Linked DNA regions of Homo sapiens: region 2 is linked to region 1. The links are contacts of gene promoters, found by promoter capture Hi-C in blood cells and fetal thymus (Javierre and others, 2016). All regions are on one chromosome and are shown on one strand. Each heading gives the region's core, a stretch centred on a gene start or on the middle of the fragment in contact. The rest is flanking DNA. Distances are from core to core; before and after follow the strand shown. Region 1 holds the start of PAXIP1-AS2 (PAXIP1 antisense RNA 2). Region 2 holds the start of DNAJB6 (DnaJ heat shock protein family (Hsp40) member B6).

Region 1 (5,581 bases), core at 3,082-5,581:
TGAATATTATCAACAATTATTCCTTTCGCCAACTGACAAACCCTGATCAATGCAATTCTGCTTGTTGATGTGAGGTGGCTTCTGGAAGGTAAGCCTTTCTATTTCTTCAGTTGAAGATACTGTTGTGTAACCTGCTCGGTAAGTCCCTGATCCATCCTTTAAATAAGAGCTGCCTGTAACTCAAACAACATCAGCATTAATCAGTGGAGTCTCTTGCAAGTCAGTCCTAGGAAAGAGGAGCCAATCAACTGGGGCTATGTGATTATGCAGTGTTTCATCTGAAAATGAAGGCAGAAGAGTGTCAGGATTTAGGTTACACCTGGAGATGGTGATAGGAGAAGCTGAAAGAAGTAAAACTCATGTGAAGCTCGTCTACTAATTGAATAATGTCCAGTGTGGTGTGAGTTTAGTGATGCTTCCACAGAATGAGGGATAAAAACAGTAAGGGGAGTTCCCACCACAGTTCCTTGGGTCATCTTAATGAACAAGGTGGTTGCTGTTATATCTCTCATGCAAAGAGGCAATCCTTTGGCTACCGGGCCTAACTGTTGGCTGTAATGCCCTACAGGTCTATTTCAGCCTTCATGTTTCTGAGTCAGATTATCTAAAGCATTTCCATCATTTTCATGTACAAACAATGAAAATGTGAGGTTATAATTTACATGCCCCAAAGAAGAGGCATTGGCAAGACCATTCTTAGTCATTTCTAATGTTAGTTGACTTTCTTTTATCCAGTCTAGAGGGTTTAAAGTTCTCTATTAAGAGGGCATATAAGGAAGGTGGGCGCAGTGGCTCATGCCTGTAATCCCAGGACTTTGGGAGGCCAAGATGGGTGGATCAATGAAGGTCGGGAGTTCAAGACTAGCCTGGCCAACATGGTGAAACCCCGTCTCAAGTAAAAATACAAAAATTAGCCAAGTGAGACTCTGTCTTAAAAACAAAAAGGAGGGCATATAAGGATTGGGCTTTTAAATAAAAATTTGGAATCCAATTTCTACAATATCCTGCCAGTCCTAAAATCCCACTCAACCATCTCTTCATTCTTGGTTGTAAAAAGCTGAGATCCTTTCTAGTCTGTCTGAATTAATAAAACATCCTTCCTTGGATATTAGGTGGCCTAAGTATATCACTTGTCTTCGACAAAATTGAAGTTTCTCTTTAGAGACTTTGTTTTCTTAGGGCTGCCTTTTGTAATAAATGTAGCCCATCATTCACAGAACATCTTGTTTGCTCTCCAAGATGGAAGTCATTTATTTACTGGATTAATGTATGCATTTCCAGGAAATTAACATCTGAGAGGCCTATTTTTAATATTTTTGAAAAGTAAGTCAGGCTTTCAGCATATCCTTGGAGGCCTGTGTGACCCAGTGTATTGTCTGTTTTCCCAAGTGAAGGCAAAGAGAAATTGGCTATTTTTGTCTACAAGAATGCTAAAGAATGTACTACATAAGTCTATGACTGTAAGGAATTCCACATTAGAAGGAATGGCTGTGAGTAACATAGGCTTGTGCAGTATAGGGTGCCATGGGATTGCCATGTTGTTTATTGCTCTCAAGTCTTGTACAAACCTCCATTCTCTAACATTTGGTTTTCTTACCAGGAGGATTGGGGTATTACAATGGCTTGTACAAGGAATGAACAGTCATCTTTCTATATAATCTGACATTATAAGCTTTATCCCTCCTAGAGCTTTAGTTCTCAAGGGGTATTGTCTTGTATTTTGAAGATGTTTCCATGGGTATATTTAAATATTTATTGGAGTAGCTGAGATGATAGTTTCTATATCAATGGAGGACACTGACCACAATGGATCAAGTACTGTCTTTAGTACATTTTGTAATTCTTCATTAAGCAATAATTCATTGTCTTTCATGGCAATATGGATTGCAATTGGATTAGATTTTGAAAATTTTATTAAAATATCTGTTGTGTCTCAAAGTTGAGTTTTATAATCTAATTTTAAATATATTTCCTTCCTTTGAGAGAAAGAAATGTGGGTATCACATAATTCTAAGCAGTTTCTTCCTGTTGAATGGATGGGGTCTGATGGAACAAAGAGGAGGGCATGAGTTCCTTGTAACGAACACTGTTGAAAGGTTACAGGCTGAGATTGGTATGCCAATACAGGAGGATTGTGATGCCCACCATTTGAATTCTTTGTTTACTGCAAGGAATGGGACCTTGTACCAAGATGGGATTAATTCCAGATAATGTGGCTCCAGTGTCAATAAGTGCTTGTGTTAGTTCTCCATTTATAATAATTTTTATTTCTCCCAGTGTTAGTAAGGAGGAAATGAAAGGCCCCTTTAAGTTCCTTGGAGCACCCCTGTTTTCTTTTCTGCCTCCACTGGTTAACATTCTTTCCTTTTTCATTTTTGGCAACTCTTTTGAAAGTAATCATGCTTTTTGCAAAAATTGCAAAGTGGAAGGTTAGGTCCATTAGGGAGTTTCTAGGGGTATTGTGAAGGCCAAAATTGTGTGAATAGTTGTTTTAATTGTAAATTCATAATTGTATTAGCCTCGCTCTTTTGTTTGGCTTCCCTCTCTCTTTCTTCTTCAGTTAAGGTATCAGATAACCGGTCAATGAGACTGACCAAATCATGAGTATCAGAAGTGGCCCAACTTTGTCTTTTCATTGTTAGTTCCAATTCATCTAACTCATTTGTTAAACTGGAGTCGAGTATCATTTCGATGATTAGCACAGCTTTCTTCGGATAAAACTAAATATTCTTTAAAATTTTTTCCACAGCCCTCAAAGTATATTACTGACTCATCTGAATTTTGTTGATATTGTATTTTGTTCCAGTTGACTACTCTGAAAAACTGAGGAGATAGCCTGATGCAAAGCCTTTGCTGTTCTTCAAGCCTGTCTATGGTCCTCTTCTGAACATTTATGAAGATCCCTAACAGATTTCTCCAGTGAGCTTTGTCTAGCCAGCCTTTAGCTTTAATTTTTGCTACTAACATGTGAATCTGTTGCTAGAAGTCAGAATAACTAGGGTCATAAGCTTGGATATTTAATTCAAATTTCCTAGCAAAACCAATAGGAACCTGGTGAAGATCAAGGAATTCTTTTAACTATGCCTGTAAGTTTGATCATGATTGATAAAGCAGGTTCCCCTCTACCAGATGCTGGATGAAATGGAGCCAAACCAGTGGGAGCAGGAGGAGGGGCAGGAGGAGGAGGAGGAGAAGGTCAATCAGGGCTGGGTAGTTCTGACAAGGAGGCTTAGAGAGACAGGGGAGCAGGGAGAGAAGAAGACATTTCAGTGTTTTTTAAAATTCAGTAATGGTTTTAGAGTGCTTTTTATTTTCTTCCTCTAAGGGAAGAATTCTGTCAAAACCTCTTTTGGATGCTTCTGGGTGCCATTGGAAGTAACTCTCTTAATTATTTTATTTGATTCCATAGCTGGCTTTTTAAAATTGTGCATATAAATAAACTAATCTAGCTATTTCAAAGATAATTCTCTTTGATCATTGTAATTTAGGATCTTCTTAGGTCAAATAAGACCATTTCTCCAACTATCGACAGGAGGTGGCGCCATAAGTCTTGTACATAAACCCCGCTGGAGTTTCCAAAGGTGCATTGCTTAATGAGGGCTTGGTTATAGATGGATAATTGCTCATAATTTGGATTCTCTTTTAAAATGCCCAAAGGCTAAAAGGGAAAAGTGTTTGGGGTCCAGTGTGCTGCTTAGTAGGGATTATTCCTGGAGGTATCACCTACAAGTAGCTTCTTCCCTCTTACCTACCTCAGAGAAACCCAGACATTTCTGGGAGTTCAAGGCACTGGGTGACGAACCCCTTGTGTGTTGTGTGCCCCGGGGGTTAAGCAGCTCTCCCTGTGAGTTCTTCTCTGGGGTTTGTTGTGAGCTTCCACACCCTTGTGTTACCTCCATTGCCTAAGGTGCCTTTCAGCTGGGAGAAAGAGTCCTTTTTGTCTTCAGCTTATCACGTCCTCATTCCAACCTTTTACAAATTTTGGGTGACTCAGGAAGAAACTTTAAATCTCAATGTTAACCAAGATCCAAAGCCTGGCTGGTTTAAAGCCACAAATTTGGCTTAAGCCACAAACATTCACTTTCTCCTTTTACAAAGAAAACTGCTTTCTCTTTAACCAAATGTCAAATGAGAGAAAAGGTTACAAACTTGAGCAAGTAAAAAAATGTCCAATGAGAGAAAAGGTTACAAACTTGAGCAAGTAAAATGTCCAATGAGAGAAAAGGTTACAAAAGAGCAAGTAAGACGAACGAAAACTTAACCTAATAGAAAAGTGAAACCACAAACCTGCCAATAGCAGAATCTTTAGAGAAATGACGCGAAACTCCTGCCTTAAAGCCCTAAATGGCGGCTTCAATATCAGTCCCACTGAGCATGAAATTCATTTACTTAAATAAAATCTGAATCTCAGCCCAAACCTGGGAGATTCAAAACCTGAGAGCGGTCTTACCAAAGACGCCCGTATGTCTGGTGAAGTCAGTTGGATGCAAGCAGTTTGTGCTGGTACCAGGGCCCCAGCTACTGATGAAGTGGCAGGAGTCCACAGAAGCCTACTTCGAAGTTCCCGGGGCTTCCAGGGGAGGTGAGAACACAAGTGATGGGAGAGCCTGGGGAGGGACTGTCTGGTGAGTAAAGGTTGTGCTGCTCTGTGGATGAAATGTCTCTGAGGTCGTAAACATCTCAGAGCCGCCTTCGGGAGAACGGGTGATAGTCATCTGGGCTGATGTCACCTCCAGTGTCCTCTCCTGTGATCTGTGTTAATCCTCCCAGATTGACGAGATTCCTGGGGAGGCGATTCATGACAGCTGAGTTCCTTTTGGAGGATCCGTCTTCAGGCAGGTAAGGGGAGCTCAGAGGAAACCTCTGCCTGCATCCGCTGATTCCCAAGTGCCCTCAGCTCACAGGGATCAGCACTCCCAAGTGCCATGGGGGTGGCATTTCCTGAACTCCTTCAAAGCAATAACAACAGGCTGGGCGTGGTGGCTTACGCCTGTAATCCCAGCACTTTAGGAGGCTGAAGTGTGAGGATTGCTTGAAGCCAGGAGTTCAAGACCAGCCTGGGCAACATAGGGAAACCCTGTCTCTACAAAGAATTAAAAGAAAACTTAGCCAGGAATGGCAGTGCACACATGTGGCCCCGCCTACTCGGGAGACTGAGGTGGGAGGAGTGCTTGAGCCAGGTGGTTGAGGCTGCAGGGAGCTGTGATTGCACCACTGCACTCCAGCCTGGGCAACAGAGTGAGACTCTATCTCAAAACAAACAAACAACAACAACAAAAGTGAAACAATAACAACAACTTTTACAAAACGGACATTTGGGATCTACATGCCACACTCCTAAATGCGTCTCTTAAGCAACAGGTGTCACAGTCTTAAACCTTGTCCTTACCCTCTTCATTCTAGGCACCTGTTTCATTCCAGGTAGGGCTTCCTCCTGGTTTCCTAACACAGCGGGTTGAGATGAACAGCAGAGAAGGACACTGCACACCTCTGCAGGGTCTCCCCTCTGGCCCACCAGCCCTCCCTTCTCCAGCAGTGAAGACCTCACTATGTCATCCAGGCAGGAATAATATAGACAGAA
Region 2 (5,563 bases), core at 380-2,879, 2.4 Mb after region 1:
GGCGGGCGCCCCCGAGGTTGGGCCCGCGGTATGGGCAGTGGAAACTGCGCATGCGCGGCGTCAGGGTCGGGCGGAAGTTGACGCCGCCGTGCCGCCGCCGCGTGACGCATTTCCTGTTTGTTGTTGGAGAAAGGAGAGAAAGGAAAGCGCGAGGAGCCGCCGCCACCACCAGCGCAGCAGTCCTGGAGCTGTGAGGAGATTCGGGCCGTCACCCTGCCTCCCCTGCGTCCCGCCACCGGCCGCTTCTGTCCTCGGTGAGGGTCTGTTCCGAGGGTCGGGGGAGGTCGCCTAGGGCCCCGCGCGCGCCCGGCAGACGGCGGACCTCACCCGGCGCCTGGCAACAGCGCGGGGGGTGACCGGGGTCGCCGGCCGGGGAAAGGACTGGACGGGGCGGGGGCCGTGGCCGGGGTTGCGGGGCGAAGGGTGGGCGGGGTCCTCTGGGTCAGGTCTGGGGCCGGGGCCGGGGCTGGGGTCTGGGGCCGCCCGGCCGCGTCCTCCCCGCCCGGCGTCCTTGCCGGAACGCGGCCCAGCCTCCGCGGCGGCGGTTGGGGGTGGGGCCCGGCCTGGGAGCGGCCGGCTGGGGCTCGGCTGGGGCTCGGCGGGGCCGGCAGCGTGGGAGGCGTGGAGCGCCTTCTTTTTCTAAGGCTCCCGCACTCGCGTCTGAAACCAGAAACGGGAGTGGCTTGCGGAGCAGGAATGCCGCAGCCGTGCCGCCAAGTTCGGAGGGAGAAGAAGCAGGTGGGGGACCGCAAAGCCCTGTTTCTAGAACTCCGGACGGATTGTTCAGAAGTTTGTGGAAGAGCAGGCTGCCTTTCTCACTCAGAATGTTTGTCTGCTTTGCTTTGCGTTAAAGAATCTGCACCGTAGTTGATGCAACTGAAGTTTATATAAGAAGTTTACATTAACTCTTACCTAAGGAAGGTCAGTGACACACGCAGTGTAAACTGCAAATCATATATTGGCTCGAGAAAGGTTTTGGCACTAGCGAATTTTTTAAAGGATGGGTTTGCTAGTCAGACGTAAACTTCTGTGCTAACTTCTCACGTAAACGGGGCAGGAAACAGCGCAAGTAGAACGATCGTGCCACCACCGAAGGGGTGCCGCCTGCGAGCTCGGAGGCTTCAGCCTGTTTGGGAAGAGTAGGCTGAGCGGCGCTCTTTGTAGTTTTCAACGTTTTTATTGAGTTGCGAATTTTAGTAAGGATTTGTCGCTACAATTTAAGCCAAATTATTGATTTAGTAGAAAAGTTAGAGTGAAGACCGAAGAAAGGAAACAGACGTTAACCATTAAAGCTTGATTGCTGCTGCTTCGTGTTTAACCGCACTTTTCCAAATAGTGTTGCGTATCAGAACGATTCATGATTTCTGAAAGGAATTATATGCAGCCGCCTTACTCCTCCGCCAGTCCACCCGTCCCGCGTTCTCTCTGGGTTTACTCCAGACTTCCTTTTTTTTTTTTTCCTGAGACGGAGTCTGTTCTGTTGCCCAGGCCAGAGTGCAGTGGCGCGATCTCCACTCACTGCAACTTCCAGCTCCCAGGTTCAAGCGAGTCTCCTGCCTCAGCCTCCTGAGTAGCTGGGGTTACGGGTGCTCGCCACCATGTCCGACTAATTTTTGTATTTTTAGTAGAGACGGGGGTTTCACCGTGTTGGTCAGGCTGGTCTCGAACTTATGACCTAAAGTGATCGCCTGCCTCGGCCTCCCAAAGTGTTGGGATTAGAGGCGCGAGCCACCGCGCCTCGCCGACTCCAGACTTGTTTCCACTCCTGAGGGCCTTAAGCTCCCTTGGAGTTTGTGCTTTCACATTTCTTTCTGCCTTCCGTGATAAAGGGATGAATAGTTTTTATGCACGCTTCAGCGAGCTGCGGGTTTTTGTGGATTACGCAGGCTGTGAAATTTGGGAAGTAAGTTGCCTTAAGTTGGTAGATGTGGAGATTTGACAGGAAGTGGGAGAACAAAGGGGTTGGGAAGCTTTTGGAAAGTGTCCAGGCTTCATCTGTGCTGTGGAAGGTGAGAAAGTTGGGAATTCCAGAGGGCAGAGCTCTTAAAGAATTTGAGATGAGTTCAGCACTCTCTTCAAAACAGTGTTTTAAAATTTATTTTCTTCTGGATATGAAAGTGTTAGGTTTGGGAAGTAATTCTGGCTGTAGGACAGTTTTTCCGGAACACTAGGTGGGGAGTGTTGAATGTTGTGAAGACTAAAATATGCATATGGTATTACAGTGTGATACCTGTTACTGAGTGGCGTACATTAGCTTTCATTTTTAAGCAAGCCCGTAATTCCCTTCTATTAACTCTGTTTTGGACAGTGGTACCCGTCACCCTCATCAGTCTTCAACCTAGATAACCTAAATCCAGGTCTGAGGTGGGGGTGGAATGGTCTGTTTGCACCTTTTTTTTTTTTTTTTTTTTTTTTTTTTTTGAGACGGAGTCTTGCTCTGTCGCCCAGGCCGTAATTAATGCGGTGGCGCGATCTCGGCTCACTGCAAGCTCCACCTCCCGGGGTCACACCATTCTCCTGCCTCAGCCTCCCGAGTAGCTGGGACTTCAAGCTTCCGCCACCACAGCCGGCTAATTTTTTTGTATTTTTTTAGTAGAGACGGGGTTTCACCGTGTTAGCCAGGATGGTCTTGATCTCCTGACCTCGTGATCCGCCTCCTCGGCCTCCCAAAGTGCTGGGATTACAGGCATGAGCCACCGCGCCCGGCCTTTTGTGTGTGTGTGTGTGTGTGTGTGTGTGTGTGTGTGTGTGTGTGTGAGATGGAGTTTAGCTCTTGCCCCTGCTGGAGTATAATGGCACCATCTTGGCTCACTGCAACTTCGCCTCCCAGGTTCAAGCGATTCTCCTGCCTCAGCCTCCCGAGTAGCTGGGATTACAGGCATGCGCCACCACGCCCAGCTAATTTTTTCTATTTTTATTAGAGACGAGGTTTCACTATGTTGTTCAGGCTGGTCTCGAACTCCTGACCTCAGGTGATCCACCCGCCTCGGCTTCGCAAAGTGCTGGATTACAGGTGTGAGCCCGCGCGTCCGGCTGTCACTTTAAAGAGTATTATAAGAGGGCACTTCATAACTTGGGCAGGTATTTTTAGTCATCCTGAACGTGTCGCTGTGGACTGGGTGTCACCGCGGGACCGCACAGACACCTTACTGTCGTCTGCTGTAAAGGTCAGCTTCTATATTGGTTAATGCTTACAGATATCTGTTGAGGAATAAGAGAATGTAATTAGCCTTTGTATTTGTGAGTTGACGTTTTGACGGGATTTTTACTTCTTAGTATTTATTTGCATCGAGGTTACACACTGGATTAACAGCGTTTTTTGGAAACCTTTTTAAAACTTTTTCATTTCCTCAGAAATGATTCTGTTCAAAATGTGGTTTGGTTAAATTTGTGCAGGACCCCACCTGGTGGTGAGAGGCGGGTAACTGCAGGCTCATTAGCGAGTAAGAGTAGGATCAGTGGCAGGATTTAGCAAATGGTGTAGTTCAAGGATGAATAGAATTTGAGAATATCAAACTCAAAAAAATGAGGTTAATGAGAAGAAGAGCAAAGTTGGTGAAAACAAGAATATGTTAGAAACGATGATGTAGGAATGGAAAAACGACAACGCCTACCTGCAGAAAAGTCAACTAGTAAAAATGTGATTTTTTTTTTTGTATTGATATTAATGAGGTGTTTTGTCAAACAAAACCCTTTATGTTTTTGTATGGACATAAATCACTGTTGACCTGTTTCATGTTCCTGGAGATATCCTACTTGAGAAGGAATATTGATTGATGATTAGTTGACTGACTGATTTACTTGAGATGGAGTCCTTGCTCTGTGTCCCAGGCTGGAGTGCAGTGGCGCGGTCTTGGCTCACTGCACTCCTGGGTTCAAGCCATTCTCCTGCTTCAGCCTGCCAGGTAGCTGGGATGACAGGCGCGTGTCACCACGCCTGGCTAATTTTTGTATTTTTAGTAGAGACGGTTTCACCATGTTGGTCAGGCTGGTCTCGAACACCTGACCTCAGGTGATCCCCTGCCTCCGCCTCCCAAAGTGCTGGGATTACAGGCGTGACCCACCGCACCTGGCTGTGTGTGTGTGTGTGTGTGTGTGTGTGTGTGTGCGCGCGCGCAGGTGGAATCACCCTGTGTGCCCAGGCTGGTCTCGAACTCCTGGCCTCAAGTGAGTCTTTCATCCCGGCCTGTCAAAGTGCTAGAATTACAAGTGTGAGCCAGGTGCCTGGCCAGATTTTAGATTTTTTTGTTGTTGTTGAGATGGAATCTCATATTGCCCAGGCTGGATGCAGTGGCGCCATCTCGGCTCACTGCAACCTCTGCCGCACGGGTTCAAGCGATTCTCCTGCCTCAGCCTCCCGAGTAGCTGTGATTACAGGCACCTGCCACTGCTCCCGACTGATTTTTGTATTTTTAGTAGAGACGGGGGTTTCACCATCTTGGCCAGGCTGGTCTTGAACTCTTGACCTCGTGATCCACCCGCCTCGGCCTCCCAAAGTGGTGGGATCACAGGTGTGAGCCACTGCGCCAGGCCATATTTTAGAATTCTTAAGCTGTGTTGCAAAATTACGTGTCTTTGGAAGGGTGATTTAGTTTACACTACATATGATTTTTCCCCCTTTGATATTTTTCTACTTACCTTTTGCCACCAAAGGCTTAAATTAAAAGTGTGTTTTATATTTGTGTTGTGCATATATACGTGTGTGCTCTAGTTGGTATGCTTATGAACTGTGTACTAATACTTATTCCTCTCTGCCACCTTGAGATGGCATGTACCACTTGGGTGGGCTTTGAATCTGAAGTTATTTGTGTTTATAGGAATGTCCAGGACACAGAGTGCTTAGAAAGTATTGATTGAATTAGATTCTTTCTAGTTTGTGTATGTCCTGATGACCTTCCTGTGATTAATAATGGAATCCAGAATTCAAGAAAGTTGGAAAAAATAAGTTTCAGCAGCACTGGAGACTGAGTACTTAACCGAGTGTTGCTTTGTTTATTTTAGAGTCTCACACTGTCACCCAGGCTGGAGTGCAGTGTCGCGATCTTGGCTCACCGCAACCTCCACCTCTGGGGTTCAAGCGATTCTCCTGCCTCAGCCTCCCTGGTAGCTGAGATTACAGGCGTTCGCCACTACACCTGGCTAATTGTTGTATATTTAGTAGAGAGTGGGTTTTGCCATGTTGGCCAGACTGGTTTGGAAGCAGGTGATCCACCTGCTTTGGCCTCCCAAAGTGCTGGGATTACAGGTGTGAAGCACCGAGCCTGGCCCTATTTTATTATAATAATAATTTTTTTTGAGACAGGGTCTCACTCTGTCACCCAGACTGGAGTGCAGTGGCGTGATCTCAGCTCACCCCAGCCTCCGCCTCCTAGTGTCAAGTGATTCTCCTACCTCAGGCTCCGGAGTAGCTGGGATTACAGGCACGTGCCACTATCCTGGCTAATTTTTTTTTTTTTTTTTTTTTTTTTTTGAGTTTCACTCTTGTTGCCCAGGCTGGAGTGCAGTGGTGCAATCTCAGCTCACTGCAACCTCTGCCTCCCAGGTTCAAGCGATTCTCCTGCCT

Evidence for each region. The method cuts DNA at HindIII sites, captures the fragments that hold promoters and counts their contacts. A CHiCAGO score of 5 or more calls a contact.
Region 2: a fragment that was not itself captured here is called in contact with the fragment with the promoter of PAXIP1-AS2 in region 1 in 1 of 17 cell types (total B cells); the score reaches 9.4 in total B cells.

What each region holds. Positions count from the first base shown.
Region 1 is chr7:154,924,186-154,929,766 of GRCh38, forward strand. It overlaps PAXIP1-AS2 (PAXIP1 antisense RNA 2), which reads left to right and starts at 4,332. Exons shown (of 8, transcript NR_024476.1): 1 at 4,332-4,582; 2 at 4,771-4,839. RefSeq lists enhancers at 4,413-4,472, 4,493-4,592, 4,743-4,962. The HindIII fragment of the contact is 7,419 bases long and covers 3,007-5,581 here.
Region 2 is chr7:157,336,891-157,342,453 of GRCh38, forward strand. DNAJB6 (DnaJ heat shock protein family (Hsp40) member B6) reads left to right here and starts at 114. Exons shown (of 10, transcript NM_058246.4): 1 at 114-254. RefSeq lists enhancers at 1-64, 65-568, 1,297-1,346, 3,649-4,169 and silencers at 177-386, 447-636. The HindIII fragment of the contact is 678 bases long and covers 1,291-1,968 here.